Linked DNA regions of Homo sapiens: regions 1, 2, 3, 5, 6 and 7 are each linked to region 4. The links are contacts of gene promoters, found by promoter capture Hi-C in blood cells and fetal thymus (Javierre and others, 2016). All regions are on one chromosome and are shown on one strand. The core of a region is centred on a gene start or on the middle of the fragment in contact, and the rest is flanking DNA. Distances in the headings are between cores, read along the strand shown. Region 1 overlaps FNDC3B (fibronectin type III domain containing 3B). Region 2 overlaps FNDC3B (fibronectin type III domain containing 3B). Region 3 has its middle 24 kb from the start of TMEM212. Region 4 holds the start of FNDC3B (fibronectin type III domain containing 3B). Region 5 overlaps FNDC3B (fibronectin type III domain containing 3B). Region 6 overlaps TMEM212 (transmembrane protein 212). Region 7 has its middle 7.0 kb from the start of PLD1.

Region 1 (2,700 bases), core at 5-2,504, 170 kb after region 4:
CCCAAGAGAATTCCAATTCTTTGATCTTAGCTGTCAATTAAAGATGTTTATAAATGTTTTATCAGCTGTTCTACCTACTTCCTTATTCTTAGATGTATACTATTTCATATTAAACGATCACCAGGGACCATTAATCATATAAATAAACAGCAATAATTGCATAGACTGATTCTTCATAGAGTGCTTATTATCCTATATTATATAAAATCCTGTGATCATTTTGTTGTTGCCATGGAAGTAAAACAGTGGTTGCTTTATTATGACTAAAGCTGGGGGACTATTTTTAGCCAAATTATAGTCATCTTTGCCAGCTGAAGCATATTCAATTAAATATCCATTAATAGGATAAAGTTTATGGAACTCTGTTAATGACTCTTTTTCCCTCTTTACTTTTAAACATTGTGATGAAATTAAAACTTAGCTAATTGGACTCAAGGTAACTACAAATGAGATGTGCTTCAAGGATCTTGAATGAGCCTGTTTTTTTCTACTTTCTATTTATTTTTTACCGCGTTCTTTCCAAGTCATTCTTCTGAACTGGTCCGTAGCACATCTGCATCAAAACCAGTGATCAGGGATGGCCTGAGGAAGTTGGGCTGCTTGTGGGGAGAAGCAGACTCTGAAGGCCTGGAAATCTACATTTTCAAAAAGGCCTAGAAATTTTGACGTAGCACATTTGAGGATGATAGCAGGAAGAATTTAGAAATTGTCAGCTAACACCTGTTTTCTAGAATCTGCAAGCACAGACCTACGTGACACCAGTACCACCACTACCACCCAGCATATTACTCTAGAAGGAAGCACAGAAATTATCAGGTTTCTTCTCTTTTACTTTGTATCATGAACAATTAAGTAACTTGCCCAGGGCCATACAGACTGAATCCCATATCTCCACTGAGCCATTTGGTTTTGATGGGGATGGACTGAAGAGAAGAACTTTAAAAAATACTATTGGAAAGCTGAAATGGACCAGTGACCAGCCTCTGGATTCCTGTGATTTGTATCAGTTACCGTTTTGAATATCATGCATATGCTATGGTCACAGATCTCTTAATGTATCACGAGGACAGTTGGAAAACAATTCAGTTGAGATTAATTGGGTACATGTATTTTCTGGTTGTGGCTTTTCTGCCTTGTTTGTAGTTTACACACCAATCCATGAAATTATTTCCTTCCTTTTTCTTTTTCTTCCATGTTAGGTATCTGTCTGGTTCCTCCCTTCTTTTTCAAAGAGAGGATCAGCTTTCTGCCCCAGATCCTTCTTTCTCCTTATCTGTTCTCCACTTGATTTTAGTAACATTTCTGTGCAGACAGCCTAACAGACCTGACCTCAGATCTGTGGCCAGAAAATTTTTACTCAAATACTTTGACAGTGTTTTACTCATCTAAAAGTGAATGTGATCCCTAGACAAGTATGAGGCCAAAGGTGCGTCTCATTGGACCTCAGGCCATGTGAGCATACGCACATGGGAACATGGGGATTCTTTTACAGTTTAAGTCATGGGGAAGACAAGTCATAAACCACAGTGGTTTCTCAAAGGCAGTGATAGAGATAAGGTGATGAAGAAACTCCTATCTTCTCAGTATTCACAGTTTTGTCTGAGTAGGGATGTCTGGAAAAGGGAGGAGTATAATCCTAAAGTTTTGCCTTGAAGGGATTTATGAGTTGCTCATATTTATATATCATGCATATCATTTGTTTGTGCTCATACTCTTGCTTAACCAGTGATAGTACTATATGCAAAACTCCCCATTTTGATGTAGTCTTGTTTTTAGTGATTACCTGGTAATTTTGCCTTCTCCCCATTCTTACCTATCCTAATACGGCCTCGGTTTTTTAGCCTTTCCAGATTAGCAAACCCCAAAGGCTTAGTAGTTGTTTTGAGGAGCTAACTTTAAAATGTATCTGTTCTTGTTGCTTTTTCAGCTCAGGATAAACAGCAGTGAATCAGTTAGGAGACCTTTCTGGTAGCCTGTTACCCCAAATGTAGACCCTTGATTTTGATTTGTCTCAGGCCCCCTTAGTAGTAGATGAAGGGTTGGTTTTTGAAAGTGAAATTGTAGCTTGTTTAGTAAAAATTGCTTGTTTCTGTGGAGGCAATGTGCCAAAATTAGAAGCATCTATGGTGCCGCGCCATAAAGCAGTCTGGTGCCTCTCAAACAATAACTTTGTCAGTTCATTTTTATGGCTGAGAAAATAGCAGTCTAGGTGACCAACTTTCCCACAATTGCTTGGGGGTGTTTACTGACTGCCCTTGATCAGACGCCAAACACTTCAGAGGTAAGAGAGCCTAACCTATTTGTAGTTGTTGTTTACCCTCAGCCCTTAGCCTGCCCTTTGTTTTTCACTTACAAACAAAAGAGTAAAATCAACAGGCTGGTCTGTAAGAACTCTCATTTACTTTCCGGACCCCTTCTGTGTGGTTTAGGTAAGGCAGAGACTGGAACTATATACATCAAACTAATCATCTCACAGCCCATTATTAGGTCCCAGCTGCCGGACAACTTAGAGGATTTTTATTAACAATCAAGACACTTTTGTAAAGTTAAGTTAATTTTTGGAGATTGCTGGTCCCTTCCAGCCTGACACTGAAGTGATGATGAGTGAGTGAGCAGCCTTCTAGATTGGCAAGAAAGTGGCATCAGGTAGATAAGCTATGACTCTGTTTTATGGAATATTTGGTTCATTTTTTTTTCCAT
Region 2 (2,700 bases), core at 106-2,605, 220 kb after region 4:
TCAGCTCACTGCAACCTCTGCCTCCCAGGTTCAAGCGATTCTTCTGCCTCAGCCTCCCGAGTAGCTAGGATTACAGGCGCACACCACCATGCTTGGCTAACTTTTTGCATTTTTAGTAGAGATGGCGTTTCACCATGTTGGCCAGGCTTGTTTTGAACTCCTGACCTCAGGTGATTCACCCACCTCGGCCTCCCAAAGTGCTGGGATGACAAGCGTGAGCCACTGCGTCTGGCAAATTTTTTTGTATTCTTAGTAAAGGCGGGGTTTTGCCATGTTGGCCAGGCTGGCCTTGACTCCTGGTCTCCAACTCCTGGCCTCAGCCTCCCAAAGTGTTGGGATTACAGGCGTGAGCCACTGTGCCTGGACACTTCCAGGCTCTTTTAAGAAAGGTTGCCACTGGGTAGAAACGTACAGATACCTTGGGGTCCTCTCTGGTGGAATTGGTACCAGATCTCACACATCTCCTCGTCACCTCGTCCTAGGGCACTTCCAGCTCTGAGTGAGAAAGAACTCTGGTGCACAGCCTCTTGGGACTTCCTTTCTCATGGTCCCTGGTGTCTCCTCATACGTTTCTTAGGATTTTCTTTGCTCCCTCTGAACCTTAAGAGACTGCCCAGAAGGGCCACCTTATGGTTTAAGATGTGTGATTATTCATTTTCCTCTCCAGTGCATCCTCTCTTGTGACTACAGTTAAATAGATCTCAACATTTTAATTCCTTCCTTGAGAACCTTTGTGGTGCTCCCCACTGTCTAGAGAATAAAGTCTAAACTGCATGATATGACACATACTCACCTCTTGTGGCCCTTCACATTTCCCCACCAGACATGCGGTGTTCTGCCCCATTTTGTGAATATGCCTCATTCCCCTTTTTTGGCCTGTCCTTCCAGTTCCTCTGCCTAGCAAACTCCAACTCAGGCCTTCAAGAGCCAGCTCAGTTATCACCTCCTCTGTGAAGCCTGCCTGTCTCTCCAACATATTATGATGGCAGATAAGTTAAGGGAAAATATTTCAAGAGTTTTTGCCTTCCTTTTCTCTTCCTCTCCCAGCATTTCATTTTAGAACAGTGCTTGGGCATCCAGTCCACAGATGTTCAAGGACAGGAATGGAAAAATTTGTTCTTGTGTACGGAGTATTATGCAAGAGCTGGGCCTTGAGCCTGTTCTGTGGCCAAAACCCAGTTAAAATAGTCACATTGCCTTTCACTGCAGAAGCTAAAGAAGTTTCTGTTGCTCTTCATTGAGTGAGAAGGAAGCTTCATTTCTTCCATTTTATTCTTGATAAAAAAACCAAAGCACACAATATTTTAAGGAAGTTATTGAGTGGGATACAGTGAGTCAGGATCCAGTTTTCTAACTGAAATCCTTCAATTTTCAGCCAGTTATAGCCCCTCAGAAAGCAGTTAGGTTATCTGCTAATATTGTTATAGAAATAATTAGGTGAATTTAGAGTAAAAAACAAAAGCTTTGATGAGGATCCACTGTTTAATTTTAAAAGACCTAAGTAGTCTCAATAATATGTATGTGTGTGTGTTTGTGTGTATATGTGGGCAGATGGTGAAGGGAGAGGAAATCAAGAGTGTAAAGTCACAATTTCCAAACTTTTTTTTTTTTTTGAGACAGAATCTGGCTCTGTCGCCCAGGCTGGAGTGCGGTGGCGCAATTTCGGCTCACTGAGACCTCCACCTCCCAGGTTATAAGCAATTCTCCTGGGATTACAGGCACCTGCCACCATGCCTGGCTAATTTTTGTATTTTTAGTGGAGATGGGGTTTCGCCATGATGGCCAGGCTGGTCTTGAACTCCTGACCTCAGGTGATCCACCCACTTCAGCCTTCCAAAGTGCTGGGATTACAGGTGTGAGCCACTGCGCCTGGCCTCCAAACACTTTTTTATGTATAAAAATTTGCTGTGTGCAGTTGACATTGTTGACTTTCACTTTGTTCCTGGGGCTTACCCTAAGAGTGAGGATGTCTTTTTCATATATGACTTTTACATTTTAAAAACAGAATGGAATTGTAAGATTTTAAATAATCGGCGTTCTGGACTGTGTGACATAGAACATGTCATTTCACTAAGCCGTGGTTTCCCTTTCAGTAAAATGAACAGGTGAGTTACAGTCAGTGATTTTCAAAATCTTATCAATGAGCACATTGCCTCTCTTTTCAGGCAATCTTGTGTGGATTACCAGTTTTAAATACAGTATCCCTTCACCCCTACCACATCACACGCATTCATACACACACACACACACACACACACACACACACACACACACGCACTCTGAAAGCAGACAGCACTAGAACTCCAGTGGTTTGAGTGGAGGACCTGGGTCCTTGTCACCCTCCACAAGGCTTTCCCAGGGATCCAGCCCTCACCTGGGTCCTGGCTACTCATGGGCTCAGACCAGCAGTATCAGTACCATCTAGAAGCTTGTGAGACATGTACCCTTATGACCTGCCCCAGACCTACTGAATACAGGCTGTGTAGGTGGGGCCCACCAATCTATGTTTCATCAGGCACTCCAGGTAATAATAAGCCACAGTAGCATTTGAGAACTGCTGGCTCTTTGAGTGCCAAGCAATTTTTAACCAAGATTTTAAATGGCAGGGGTGGGAAAGCGGCGGGTGGGAGGCATTCAGTTGGAACACTTGGTTTAAGTTGAAGTATGTTCCTTGTACTATCTGTATCATGATAAATATAT
Region 3 (2,700 bases), core at 46-2,545, 170 kb before region 4:
AACATTTATTGGGTATATATTATGTGCCTGATATCTAGCTAAAGGTTAGAGACAGAAATATGAGCAAGACACATCCTGCCTGCCATTGACTTACAGGGATTAAAGGGAAATGAGGCTTGGGCCAGGAGGACCAAGAGAACAGATGAAGAATAACAGGATCTGAATTAGTCAGCAACAGTGGGTATGGAGAGGAGGTGATACCTTTTTTTTTTTTTTTTTTTTTTTTTGAGACAGAGTCTGGCTCTGTCGTCCAGGCTGGAGTGCAGTGGCGCAATCTTGGCTTACTGCAAGCTGCGCCCCCCGGGTTCACGCCATTCTGCTGCCTCAGCCTCTAGAGTAGCCGGGACTACAGGCGCCCGCCACCACGCCTGGCTAATTTTTTGTATTTTTTAGTAGAGAGAGGGTTTCACTGTGTTAGCCAGGATGGTCTCGATCTCCTGACCTCGTGATCTGCCCGCCTCAGCCTCCCAAAGTGCTGGGATTACAGGAGTGAGCCACCGCGCCCAGCCGAGGTGATACCTTTGAGAGACATTTAGAAGGTAGACTCCACAGGACTTGGTAACAGCACATGGGACAGGAGAGGAACCCAGAAAGATGCTAAAAGTTTCAGGCCTATAAGAGACCCAGACAAAGTGATTGGATTTAATGCGGGTCACACTCTTGTCACTGAGGGTAAATACTCAGTTTCACATCTCATCATTAATCAAAAGGCATTGTAAGAACTTAGTAGAGGAAATTAGAGGCCTCCTGCCTACCACTCTAGACAAAGAGGTACGGAAGCTTTTCCTGAATACTCTCCAGTTAATCCTGGTCACATATCGGATACAAATGATACCTTGCTTTGAATTTATAATAAATCTAGCACTGAATGGTGTGGACTATAAGACAGTTTTAATCTAGGCCAATTTTATTTACAACTAATTTCTGCTTTTCTTTTATTAAATCTCCCATGGCAAACAGTGTTACCTTCTCTGTGAGGCTTTTCTTCTTTCAACCATCCCCGGACAGAACAGATCACTTCTTCCTTTGTGCCAGCATTGCAGTCTATGGCAGATCCCTAATAGTACACCCTTATCATGTTCTTGATATATTGCTTCTTGACCAATTTCAAACTTTTTGAGGGCAGACAGCATGACAGTTCAACTCTGATGTGTAGCCCCCAGCATAAGGCCTGATTTAAAAAGAAAAATACAATCTGATTAACTGTCAAGTGAACTAATGCTTTTTTTTTTTTTTTTTTTTTTTTTTTTTTTTTTTTGAGACGGAGTCTCTGCTGCCCAGGCTGGAGTGCAGTGGTGTGATCTCGGTTCGCTGCAACCTCTGCCTGCTGGATTCAAACGATTTTCCTGCCTCAGCCTCCCGAGTAGATGGGACTACAGGCACGCACCACCACACTTGGCTAATTTTTGTGTGTTGTTTTTTTTTTTTAGTAGAGATGGGGTTTCACCATATTGCACAGGCTGGTCTCAAACTCCTGACCTCGTGATCCACCTGCCTCGGCCTCCCAAAGTGCTGGAATTACAGGTGTGAGCCACCGCGCCCAGCTGCCAATGCTTCTTTATTGCCTTTTCTCATGTGGGCCTCAGTTTGGAAGAAAGAAATTAAGAACTTAGAGGTCTTGCAAATAATATATTGAAAACTTCAGGAAAATACCTAAGCAAGATTAACAACAGGGATTTTCACAGATTAAGCATTGAGTAACTAAAAGCCAAGGCCATTGCACTGCACAACTCCGGAGACCACCGATCTCATTAGTCTATGAAAATGGCACCACAACAATTTGAACAGCGCCCCCTAGAGTTACGTAATATGAAGCTTTGCTAGTTGGTCAAGAAGCCTAGGCTTAATTTTAACGGACTGAGCCATCCACTTCCTTTTCAGGGTCTTGGTTAACTCATCTATAAAACAAAGTGGACTAGACCAGTATTTCCTATCATTCTGTGGTTTAAAGCCCCTTTCATAATAATAATCTCATAAAAACTCTCAGCTAAAAAATTGCATCATTTTATTATGGTACAAAGTTGTTTTAAAAGATTGTAACACAAAATTTAATATAATATTTATAATATTCATAATATAGTTAGGTAAATTTGTACTTTTTCCATTTAACAAGTACCATTCTATTTAATTAAGATTAAACTGAATATGTCATAAAAACATGATTTTTTGGACAAATGTTATAGTTAACATTGTGTTATGTTTAGGATTTTGTATACTTTAGGAGGCCAAAGTATACTAAACTTTAGAATTACATTTAACTATGTGTTACACTCAATCAAAAATCAACTAAAATATATTATATGATTTAAGGTTTGTAATTATTACATCTGATTTGTTTTATAAATAAACAAATAGGGATATGAGAAAAAGTATCAAGTTAGTATTTGTGGGCATTTCTTTGCGAATAGCACCTTGCTGATATTGCTAGACTTCAGTGACAATGAATGAAAAACTGAATCAGGCCGGGCACGGTGACTGACGACTGTAATCCCAGCACTTTGGGAGGCCTGACTGAGGTCAGGAGTTCAAGAGCAGCCTGGCCAACATGGAGAAACCCCATCTCTACTAAAAATACAAAAATTAGCTGGGCATGGTGGTGAGCACCTGTAATCCCAGCTACTCGGGAGGCTGAGGCAGGAGAATCTGAGGTACAGAAACCCAGGAGGTGGAGGTTGCAGTGAGTTGAGACCATGCCATTGC
Region 4 (2,700 bases), core at 33-2,532:
CCCGCCCCGGCTTCTCATGCAGGACTATGACCTAGAATTGGAGTTATGTTATAGAAAGATGGCTTCAAGTTCCCCTTTGAGGAGCTCCACAGTAAATAAGCCATTTAGGAGAGAGGTCCCCATTTCTCTGGACTCACCATTGCCTCCAAAAAAAAAAAAAAAAGGCTAAAATCTCCCCAAAAGAATGGCAAATGAACAAGGGAAGGAAGGAGCTATTTCTTAGTGTTCTTTAGACTTTAACAGAGTATTATGTACTGCTATTATTATTTTTTAGGTTAACAAAAGTAATACATTGTCTCTAGTGACTCCCTGAATGCTCCTTTGTAGCTTAATAGTTGAGGCTGAATGTAGCTATTCAGAATACCTGGACAGCTATGGATGGAAGGGGCTTCTCTAGGCTAACTTTTGCTCTCTTGTCTCCTGAATAATCTGAGGGGTGGCATGGGATGCAGTCTGTTAACCTCTTAGAGCCTGTACAACAGAAATACATTACATTTGACTTAATATGAACTCAACAGTTATTTAATGAGTCCTATTGTGGTCCTTGCACTGTGCTATATTTTACGGATATAAAGATAAAAGTAAGAAACAGTCTTTGTCCCTGAGAAACGCATTGTGAAATAAGGCTGGGTGAGTTGGCTCACGCCTGTAATCTCAACACTTTGGGAGGCCAAGGCGGGAGAATCACTTGAGCGACAGAGTTCCAGACCAGCCTGGGCAACCTATTGAGACCCCCTCTCTTCCAAAAAAGGAAAAAAAAAAAAAAAAAAAAAGGGTGCGGTGGCTCATGCCTGCCCCGTGCCTGCAGTCCCCAAAACAAACAACAACAACAACAAAAAACAAAAAACAAAAAGAAAGAGGAAAGAGAGATTTTAACTTAAGTATAATAAAAATTGCTCATACTATGTTAGTTGTATGAATAAAATGCTGTGGGAAATGTGGGAGTAATATAGCTCACAAGGTTGCTGTGGGGGTTAACAACAACAAAAAGCGAAATATATGTGTAAATGAAAAAAAGTCAGTTTTAGGCTTAATTATCACTGAGTAAACATTGCCTTTATATTACTTTGGCGATCTGCAGAACGCGCAGCCCTCGCCATTCAGGAGTTGTTAGTTCCCTAAGCCTCAGGTTTCTTTAGTCTGGCTGAACCAAAAGGAGTTTCTGCTTAGCTAGGCAGGGCCGGGGGACAACAGCTTCTGCGAGTCTGCGATTGTGGCGGCCGGTATATTCGGCGGTTTACGGTAATGGGCGGGCCCCAAATCCCCATGTGGTCCCGACATCATTGACATGGCGGAATCCCCCATCAAACCCTCCTGGTAGTTATTTGAGCGGCGGCGGCGGCGGCTGGAGGAGGAGAGCGGCGGCGGCGGGAGCAGCGAAGGGGGCGGCAGGGATCCTCCAGGCTGCCGGCTGGGAAGGCGTGGGCGACCCGGTGTGTGGCGCGCCCAGAGCCCCGCGTTTCAGCCCTAGGGAAGGTAAGGCGTGCAAGAGCCGGGGACTAGAGGAGACCGGGACCCCGAGCGCGATCGCCGGGTCCCGGTGCACTGGAAAGCCCCGGCCTGACGCCGAGTCCGCCAAAGTGCGTCCCTGTCCCGGGAGCGCCCTGGGCTTCCCGGCAAAAACTTGGCGCCGGAGTGCTGGGGCGCCCCGTGCTCGCCTGGGCACCCCGGGAACACGGGACCCGGGAGGGGGCGGCCCCCGCCTTGCTGGGCTGGGGTCCCCCGCCTGTGCCCCCTGCCTCAGGGTTTGGAGGAGTGAAAGAAACGGGTAGATTCCTCTTAAAAAAAATTGGGCAGTGGCTCGCGGCCTCCCCCCACCCCCAGCCTTCCCAGCAGATTTTGTCCGAGGAATCCGCTCCCCCTCCCGGAATCTCCGCGGCAGGAACGCTGCCCAGGAGGGGGAGGGCGGGCGGCGAGGCCGAGGAATCTTCGACGTGTCACTTTCTGAGGCTGTAGATTTCCATATGGTGGAGGGAAGAGGGCGGGAGTGCGAAGTGGGGCTGGAAGTTGGGGCCGCCTCTCCGCGCCGGCGGGGGCGGTCGGGGGCCTCGAACCCGGGGATGCTCGCGGGGAGGGTCCCGAGCCCGCGCCGGCCTGGCCCCCCCGTCCCCGGCTGGGCCTCTCCGGGACACTCCCCGCCCCGCTGCTGGCCACCTCCGAGCACGCCACGTCCTCCTCCCCGTCCTGCCCCCCGGGCTCCCCCCGGGCTGGGGGCGGTAACCGGCGGCCGCGGCCGGACTTGGCGAGCCGGCGGCTGGAAGCTCGGGCGGGGGAGCGGGGCGCGGCGGGAAGGAGCGGGCGACCCGGTGTGTGGGCCAGCGGAGCTCCGGTCAGTCGGTCACCCCGAGGGGCGCCTCGGCCGGGGATAGGGCGGGCGGGCGGAATCTGCGCCCCGAGGCGGCCAGGAGGGGCCGCGCGGACCGTCTGGTGCCCGCGGCTGGGCTGGGGCCGGCAGGCGTGGGAAGGGCCTGTCACTCTCGGCAGAAAGTGGGGCCTCGGGCTGTGCCCGCGAACTTTCCCAGAGGTCCGGGTCCCGGCGTCCCGTGGGAACCGGAGGACCCGGGCCCGCCGTCTCGGGAGACTGGGCTGCGCCGCCCGGCGGCGCCTTTGGCGGGGAGGCTTCCAGGAGTGCGCGGTCGGAGTTGGAGCTTTTGGAATCTCAGCTCCCACCCTGCCATCCCAGACGAAGGGAAGCAATGG
Region 5 (2,700 bases), core at 26-2,525, 190 kb after region 4:
CTTGCTCTGACGCCCAGGCTGGTGTGCAGTGGCATGATCTTGGCTCACTGCAACCTCTGCCTCCTGGGTTCAAGCAATTCTCGTGCCTCAGCCTCCCAAGGAGGTGGGATTACAGGCGCGCATCACCATGCCTGGCTAATTTTTATATTTTTAGCGGAGATGGGGTTTCATAATGTTGGTCAGGCTGGTCTCAAACTCCTGACTTCAAGTGATTCACCTGCCTCAGCCTCCCAAAGTGCTGGGATTACAGGTGTGAGCCACCACACCCTGCCAGTATGGTCTTTAATTGTAAGAAAATTGAAGAGGGAGGCAAGTAAATCAAGATTTTATGGTAATAACTCTAATCTGATTGAATAGAGAAGTTCTTGATTATAGCAGATTTGTTGTATAATTAAATAGCCGAAAGTCCTTTAAAGATAAATTAATAAAATTGGTCAAATCTGACAAAATACAAATGTCAGTAATAAGCAGATAATAAACTCCTGAAGTTTAACAGACAGCTGTGGAGGTGCAATCAACAGCACGAGCTTTGTTTTCTTAGGTTGAGAAGGGCTGAATTGGTGGACCTTACAGATAACTGTGGACTTAGGGTGCAAAAACAGTGGAATCCTGTCATTTCAGCTTGGTGGTTTCTCTGATATAGTAGGTTGGGGGATGTGGTGTGTTTTGTGCCTTATTTTTTAGTGGGATGAGAGGTAGAGGGATTCTTTTCAACTTGAGAGAAAATATAGACCTTTTTTTAAACTATGAGAAAGTGGATTTAGGTAAGTGGGAATTTAATCTTATCACAGTCATCATCTCCATTATGTAAAAGCACTTGTGAGTGTGATTAGAGTTGAAACTGAAGGAGAACATGGACGTTACCTGGAGAGGCCTTTCTTCAGATTCCATCTTGGCTACTTTCTGTGTAACTTTGATAAATTATTTCACCACATATGTGAACACCTACTTGACGTGGTAGAGGTAAGAATTAGGAGAAATGTTATGTGAGGTGTGGCACTCAGTAAGTAGTAGCTACTACAATGAAAAAGACTGTTACAACAGTTCCAATGGAAGTTTGGCAGAGCTTGCCCTCCTAAATACATATTGAAATCACATGGTGTGAAGGAAAATTTTCCTTCCATTGTATACTGGCCATGGCTCTCTGTTTTTTAACCTCACCATTAACTTTCTGAATAATTTATATGTAAAAATTTCTTAAGCAGATGCTTTGAGTTTTATTTTCCATGCTTCCGTAGTAATTTATGATACATTTGCTCAAATGTTATAGGGAAAACTTCATATTGACCCAAGGATTTAAAAAGCATATGAAGAGAAAAAGTGAAACCTCCAAGTTAATGTTCTATCATTTGGGAAACCACTCTTCTTTTTCCAGATTAACTGTTGTAATCCCAAAAGTTAGTAGTCAAAATAAATATTTTTGTTGTGAGAGCAGAAACAACAAAAATACCGCATTGGATTATTTTGGGGATTAATTAATGGGTCAGTACCTGTTGAAATTATATATATTTCATTTCCCTTAGCCAGGGAAAGACAAGAAATGTATTGAAAAATATATTTGAATTTTGGTTTGGTTGGTCATTTGCCAATGATGAGTGGAGAGCTGGCCAGAAAGCAGACACCTCTGTGGAGAAACAGTGGGGCCTGTTAGGTGGAAGCTGTGCAATACTTTCCCCCCATTTCGCTTAGCCAAGCCAGCTGAGCTATAGACATTAGCCTCAACTGCTTCCCTTTGGTAATTACAGCTGGGGATTAAACCACTGCTTTGTTTCACCTTCAACGTTGTGAAAATGATAACAGAAAGGCACATGGGGGACTGCCCTATGCCCTGAGAAACTGAGATTCAGACCCATTTGGTGGCCAATAAGGAGAATTGGATTCTCTTTCAACACTCTTGGTCCTTCAGAGGAACTGATTTCTCTATAGGAAGTTAGGGAATTGTTCCATAGTGTACATTGTGTGCATGGGGGTTGGTATTGTGTTCCATGGAAAACAGCATAGTACTTAGATATTTCGTTTCAGTTATCAATGGATTTGAAGCAATTTTATTTTTTATCTTGTGGCTTATTTTGTCCAAGGAGCAATTACAGACAGGGTTGGCAATGCTAAATTAAAGAAATGTACCAAGGACATCCCCTCCCCTCAAAGTATTGTGCAGTTTCGTCTTTCTGAGCCTTCTCCCTGTTCTGCATTTTCTCTTTGATTTCTTTCCTTTGTTTCTGTGATCCCGGCATCGTGACATAATAGAACATGGGATTAGTGGGAGGAAACGAGGGCCCAAGCGAGGCTCTACATCCAACTCTCTGTGTGATTTTAGGAATATTAAGTGATTTATTTGGGTGTGTCACTTGTTTACTTGATCATTGTCTGTCTTCCTTTTAGCATTTAAGTCCACAAAGGCAGGGACCTTGTGTGTCCTGTTCAGTCCTGTTCATCACTTGATCTCTAGTTCCTTGAAAGGTACCCAGCACATAATAGGCATTTATCAAAATTTGGCTATCTGGCTGGAGTGATTTTTATCTCATGGAGGGAAGCGGAGAGAGGAAAGTGTTTCAGGATCTCTGGGGTTCTTTTCTAATCTAAAATTAGATTATTCTCCTCTGTTCATATTATTCCTTAACAGGGTATCAAATGAGACTATACGTAAGTTTCCAAAAGCAGTCATTACCAAAGCAGTGTGGCACACTTATTGACATTTAG
Region 6 (2,700 bases), core at 43-2,542, 190 kb before region 4:
GGATGGGGGAGGAGGAGAAATCTGACTAGTTATAGAGGGTGATCAGATATTGAGACTAGGGGGGGTTCTTGCTAAACTGACTCATCAGCAGCAGGGTTCTTGTGCTCAAACTGGATTTTACAAGAAAGTACACAGATGGGCCTAGGAGAAGGTTCAGGAACCTGACTAAAGTTTGATCAAGCAAATAATCTATGTCAATGGTCCATTTTTCCACTTAGATATCCTAAGCTGCTTTAAGGCCAACTTGTCTAAAACCAAATTAATCATCTTGTCACCAAAACCATTTTTTTTCTTCTCCAACTTCCCTGTCATTGTCTTGGTAACTCAATTCCAAATACTGGAGTGATTTTGACTCAACCTGTTCCTCTAAACTATCCCTTCTCAAACTGTAACGTGCATACAAATCATTAGCAGATCTTGATGAGATGCAGGTTCTAATTCAGCAGGTCTGGGGTGGGGCCTGAGAGTCTGCATGTCTAATGAGTTCCCAGAGGATGCCCATGCTGCTGGTCCTAGGACCACACTGCAGGCAGCAATGCCCTACAGCCTAACACCAACCCTACTCTAATCAGTTGCCATGTAACTTTAATTTTTCCTACAAGGCATACCCCTATGCATTCCTTCCTTTTCCATCTCACTCTATACCCCCTTACCACTTGCCATCACTTCTCAGATTTTATGCCTAGGTAACTTTGATAGCCAAACTGTGGGAATCTATCCATTAGTGAATTATAAAATCAATCTATTGAGTAGCTAGCAGTATTTACAATAAATGCATAGAATAGAATAGAATAGGATAGAATAGAATAGAATAGAATAGAATAGAACAGAGGAGAACAGAGTAGAGTGGAGTGGAGTGGAGTGGAGTGGAATGGAATAGATAATATTAGAATGCACCACATTTTTTATATCTGACCAAAATTTGTATATCTTTTATATGCATCATAATGCATATGATGCATAATGATGGTTACATATTATTTTGGTCAGATATAAAAATATTTATAACTATGACATAAAATGTATTCGTTATTGTGGCTAGAGTTGAAAAAATAAATCTGAAGACCAGGGTTCTACAGAGATGTCTAGGCCTCCCCGTATTCCAATCTAGTGTGCACACAACTGGCTCATCTTTCTAAACCCCTTCAGTAGTCAGGCTACAGGTCCTTCAAAAATCTTTCACGTTGCTTCATTGTCCCTAAACAAAGTTCAGACGTGCTAGACTGCATTGTGAGGTCCTTCTCACCCTGGTATTACCTGGCTTTCAATCCTGATTTTCTACTCTTCTCTGCCAAGAACTGGCCCTCCTTTCAGTGTGGACTCCTCACTCCCTGCTCCCTAAGCATGGCAGCCACTTCCCCACCTTTGCACATGCTGCTCCCACAGACTGAGCTGCCCTCCCTCTGTCACCTCCCATTGAAATCACATCCATCCTTAAACCCACTTCAGATCCTATTTCTCCATGGTGCCTTTATCATCGATGTTTCCCCTGTAAGTGATACCTTATCTCTGAGCTCTTCTCATGCAGAAAACATTCATCCTTCTTGCCTAGTGTTGTAGCCATTCTCGTGTGTGCATTATTTTTACACCTGAACTGTAAATTCCAGCGGCAGTCAGAACCACTATTTGTACAATTACTATTTGGGGATCTTGTTCATCTTATTTAGCCTTTCTGTGCCTCATTTTAAAAGTGGGAGGATATCTACATGATAAGGTCATTGTGAGGATTAAATGAGTTAACACATGTGAAGTGTTCAACATATATTAAACACTCACTCAATACATGTTAACATTTATTATTACTTTATCAGCACAGTACCTAGCACATTGCTTGTTTGCAGTAGACTCATAACAGATGCTTGTAAGTGAATAAATTAACCATATTAATATGATACCTCTTAAAGTTTCTATTTCTATTGTGAGGGCTCCCTGCTTCCTTCAATTCATCTACTTCTGGGAACTACGTCCTCTACTTAGGCAATTTAAAGATTTAGTGGGAGGGTTCACAATGATCATGCAATCAAAGTGTTAGCAGTAATTGTTGCAAAACCCAGCTGATATCCCTGGAAGCGCCCAGAAAGCAAGGCAGCAGCATGTCAAGGAGAGCTGAGGGAGGCGAGTGCAGGATGGGGGCCCTCTCTTCTTTCCCCACTCACTGCCAGACACAGCCTCCACTCTCCCCTTCCTCATAACCTGGCCTCCTCTTCAGCCAACTATTCCCCCCTCAGACACTCCCTCTCTCACATTTTCTCTTCCCCTTGACTTGTCCTGCCTACCCTCAAATCTCTTCCTTTTTCATTCTTTTCTCCTCCCTATCTAAAAATATAATTTTCAAGAAGAAATGGAAGAAAGAAAAGGGGAAGTCTGCGCATCTTGGGGAAAATAGCCCTATTCTATCTCCCATGTCTGGCGGGGAGCACCAATAAAGATGGGTGCGCTAACCTCTTGAGCTGCCTTTCAATTTGCAGGGTGGATTTAACAAGTTACTGAAGGCATTCATACTCAGCCTACTGCATGAAAGATCTTTTTCAAAGTTTTATGTAAACAAAGCAAAATTCAAGCTGGCAGCTACAAAAATAACAGGCAACTGAAATTCTGCAGCATTTTTCAACTTTTTGAAAGGAAAGAAACAGCTCATGCCAAAGTAGTTAAGGCAACCTGGAATCTCAGCATCTGATAATGTCAGCTATCTACTCAGAG
Region 7 (2,700 bases), core at 77-2,576, 220 kb before region 4:
TTCATTTTCCAGTAGAAAGGTCATCCTGTGGACACTCACACTAAACTGTTGCTGGTATCGTTTTTCACACTTGTACAATCTGTTGCCTTAAAGGTGCACTTTTAAACTCATGCCTTAGGCTAGTTTGTAAGGCCAGTCAAGACACCCTTACCCCACACCCCACATAAAGCAAAAGAATTTCTCAGAAACGTCTCAGCTTCAGTGGCCCTCAGGGTGTTCCTGGGAATCAGAACTCCCCTGTAGGAAAAAATATGTGTATGTGGAACAATCTGTTAGTTGACATGCTGACCCTGAATTACAGAACCTCTGCCCAAAAATGGGATTCTTCTATCCTTATAACAACAAAAAATCAGGCAAGAAATTTCAGAATTATAGACCCTTAACATTAAAATACATTGGAAAAGACCCTTGCCAGTCAAGAATACTGCAATTCTTTATTCATCTCCTATTCAGTGCTGGTACTTGCATAACTCCACAAGCTCCAAAACTCCTAGGATCAGATGAATTTATCATATTCAGAATTCTATGGATTTCAGAAACTATATACAATTCATATAGCATATATTATGTAATACCCCTGACGAGGTCTAGGGCTGCACCCCACAGTTAAACACCCTCATATTTCTGCAGCAAAAGATGTGAATAGGCATATCGCATGGAAAAATAGACTGTAAACAGCTTCAGATCAATTCAGATCAGGTTTTGCTGCCAAGTGAGTCACAAATAAAACTTTTGGTTTTCAGAAATTTTGGATTTTAGAATTATGAATAGGTGATCATGGACCTGAATTAAAACAGAATTGAGTAAACTCTGCAGATAAGCAAGAACTCTTTAAGAAGACTTTTCTACCACAACCAATTCATCCAGTGTCTTAGAGATCAATATTTTTTGTCAACTAATCAGAAGCATTGCATTTTTCTATTTTTAACAATTATATGTAACAAATAGATTCAAAACCCACTTGAGAGTCATTGTTGGGAAGACTTTTTAACTGAATTAGAAATGTCTATTTCCAAGCTTTTTAAAGTGAGCAGATATGAGAAGTTTTATAGATGATACGTACTTTCAGAAGTCAATCAGTTAAGAAGGAAGCACTGCAAAAGGCCTGCTTTCAGAATGCCGTCACCATAGCCTCAGTTGCCTTCAAAAGTGGAAACTCTCTAATTTGTTATTAAAGTGACACTTTTATTTTGAAGAGACAAGGCTAATTTCTTTTTAAAATTCTGCTTTACTACCATAGAATTGGCAGATACTTGTTATCATAGAAAAGACAGAATGTAAAGCACTAGTGTTTTTAGAAAATAAGAATAAGAAAATAAATTTGACAACTATGAAACATACTCTGGCATGATATAACCAGTGTTCTCATCCGTGATACAGCATGTTTTCATAATCACTCATCATCTCTGCAGAGAACAGTGAACAGTTTACTACAAATGCCTGTCTTTGATAATATTATCTATATGTGTTAGTCAGGGTTCTCCAGATAAACAGAACCAATAGGATATACAGAGAGATATATAAAATAGGAATTTACATTAGGAATTCGCTTGCACAATTGTGGAGACTGAGAAGTCCCACAGTCCCCACTCTGTAAGCTAGAGGCCCAAGAAAGCTGGTGATACCATTCCAGTCCAAGCTTGAAGGCTGAAGAACCAGGGGGAGCTAATGGGGTATGTCACAGTCCAAGTTCCAAGGCCTGAGAACAAAGAGTGCAGATGTCCTAAGGCAGGAGAAGATGAATGTCCCAGCTCAAAGAGAGTAAATTCATGTTTCCTCAGCCTTTTTGTTCTTTTGGGGAGCTCAATTGATTGTACGATGCTCAACCAAGTTGGCAAGGGTGATCTTCTTTACTCAATCTATGGATTCATATGCTAATCTCTCCCAGAAACACCCTCACTAACATATCCAAAAATAATGTTTTATCAGCTATCTGGGCATCCCCTAGTCCAATCAAGTTGACACATAAAATTAACCATCAACTACATCAACAAAATCTTACAGCAAATTTGTGCACTTCTAGCTTCAACTTCTTTGCTACAAGAACATTTTGGTTTTTTATTAAAAGCAGTGAATAAATTTATTTTTGGAGCTATCTCTGTACCCTTATCCTAGAATTCAAGTTTTATTCCAGTCAAAGCAGCTGTTCCATCAGTGCACTGAGACAGTTTTTTTTCCATAAAACATTGTTTTTATAGTGGAAATCATGTGCACTGGAAATATATTTTTCTTCTTCAATACATCGCTCTTTTTTGCTCAGTTGCTCTCAGCCCTATCAGAACAACACACCTTTTTATTTTTGCATTGTCTTCTTTGTCATCTGGAAATGAAATTAATTCCTAATTTCAAAAATACATAAAATACACTGACAATAAATAAAAGAGAAATAAGAGAAAATAAATTATAACAAAATAGAATGTCTCTTAATATGTAAAATTCTTGAAGAAACCACACTAAAGACATAATAAAGGGGTTAGATGTTTGTACTATCTATGATGAATATACTTAAGAGTATAACAGGGTCCAGGCATGGTGGCTCATGCCTGTAATCCCAGCACTTTGGGAGGCCGAGGAGGGTGGATCACTTGAGGCTAAGAGTTCAAGACCAGCCTGGCCAACATGGTGAAACCCCATCTCTACTAAAAATATAGAAGTTAGCCAGGCATGGTGACGTGCACCTGTAATCCCAGATACTTGGGA

The links. The method cuts DNA at HindIII sites, captures the fragments that hold promoters and counts their contacts. A CHiCAGO score of 5 or more calls a contact.
Region 1: a contact is called between a fragment that was not itself captured here and the fragment with the promoter of FNDC3B in region 4, in 1 of 17 cell types (monocytes). The highest score is 5.4, in monocytes.
Region 2: a contact is called between a fragment that was not itself captured here and the fragment with the promoter of FNDC3B in region 4, in 13 of 17 cell types (M2 macrophages, M1 macrophages, monocytes and 10 more). The highest score is 14.2, in M2 macrophages.
Region 3: a fragment that was not itself captured here is called in contact with the fragment with the promoter of FNDC3B in region 4 in 7 of 17 cell types (M2 macrophages, endothelial precursors, M0 macrophages and 4 more); the score reaches 17.1 in M2 macrophages.
Region 5: a contact is called between a fragment that was not itself captured here and the fragment with the promoter of FNDC3B in region 4, in 4 of 17 cell types (monocytes, neutrophils, M2 macrophages and 1 more). The highest score is 10.8, in monocytes.
Region 6: a fragment that was not itself captured here is called in contact with the fragment with the promoter of FNDC3B in region 4 in 2 of 17 cell types (M0 macrophages and M2 macrophages); the score reaches 6.5 in M0 macrophages.
Region 7: a fragment that was not itself captured here is called in contact with the fragment with the promoter of FNDC3B in region 4 in 5 of 17 cell types (monocytes, neutrophils, M0 macrophages and 2 more); the score reaches 7.7 in monocytes.

The regions. Positions count from the first base shown.
Region 1 is chr3:172,211,879-172,214,578 of GRCh38, forward strand. The region is part of intron 3 of FNDC3B (fibronectin type III domain containing 3B); the gene reads left to right. Among named protein-coding and RNA genes, the nearest start is that of FNDC3B, 170 kb to the left of the region's middle. RefSeq lists enhancers at 1,344-1,403, 1,414-1,473. The HindIII fragment of the contact is 8,301 bases long and covers 1-2,700 here.
Region 2 is chr3:172,255,336-172,258,035 of GRCh38, forward strand. The region is part of intron 6 of FNDC3B (fibronectin type III domain containing 3B); the gene reads left to right. Among named protein-coding and RNA genes, the nearest start is that of GHSR, 190 kb to the right of the region's middle. RefSeq lists a silencer at 773-968. The HindIII fragment of the contact is 209 bases long and covers 1,252-1,460 here.
Region 3 is chr3:171,866,385-171,869,084 of GRCh38, forward strand. No RefSeq gene overlaps it. Among named protein-coding and RNA genes, the nearest start is that of TMEM212, 24 kb to the left of the region's middle. The HindIII fragment of the contact is 1,035 bases long and covers 779-1,813 here.
Region 4 is chr3:172,038,296-172,040,995 of GRCh38, forward strand. It overlaps FNDC3B (fibronectin type III domain containing 3B), which reads left to right and starts at 1,283. Exons shown (of 26, transcript NM_022763.4): 1 at 1,283-1,476. RefSeq lists enhancers at 1,103-1,770, 1,771-2,437 and silencers at 1,356-1,535, 1,676-1,775, 1,956-2,205, 2,266-2,635. The HindIII fragment of the contact is 7,479 bases long and covers 1-2,700 here.
Region 5 is chr3:172,231,909-172,234,608 of GRCh38, forward strand. All of the region lies in intron 4 of FNDC3B (fibronectin type III domain containing 3B), which reads left to right. Among named protein-coding and RNA genes, the nearest start is that of FNDC3B, 190 kb to the left of the region's middle. The HindIII fragment of the contact is 6,909 bases long and covers 1-2,700 here.
Region 6 is chr3:171,847,785-171,850,484 of GRCh38, forward strand. The region is part of intron 1 of TMEM212 (transmembrane protein 212); the gene reads left to right. Among named protein-coding and RNA genes, the nearest start is that of TMEM212, 5.8 kb to the left of the region's middle. The HindIII fragment of the contact is 9,391 bases long and covers 1-2,700 here.
Region 7 is chr3:171,816,146-171,818,845 of GRCh38, forward strand. No RefSeq gene overlaps it. Among named protein-coding and RNA genes, the nearest start is that of PLD1, 7.0 kb to the left of the region's middle. The HindIII fragment of the contact is 622 bases long and covers 1,016-1,637 here.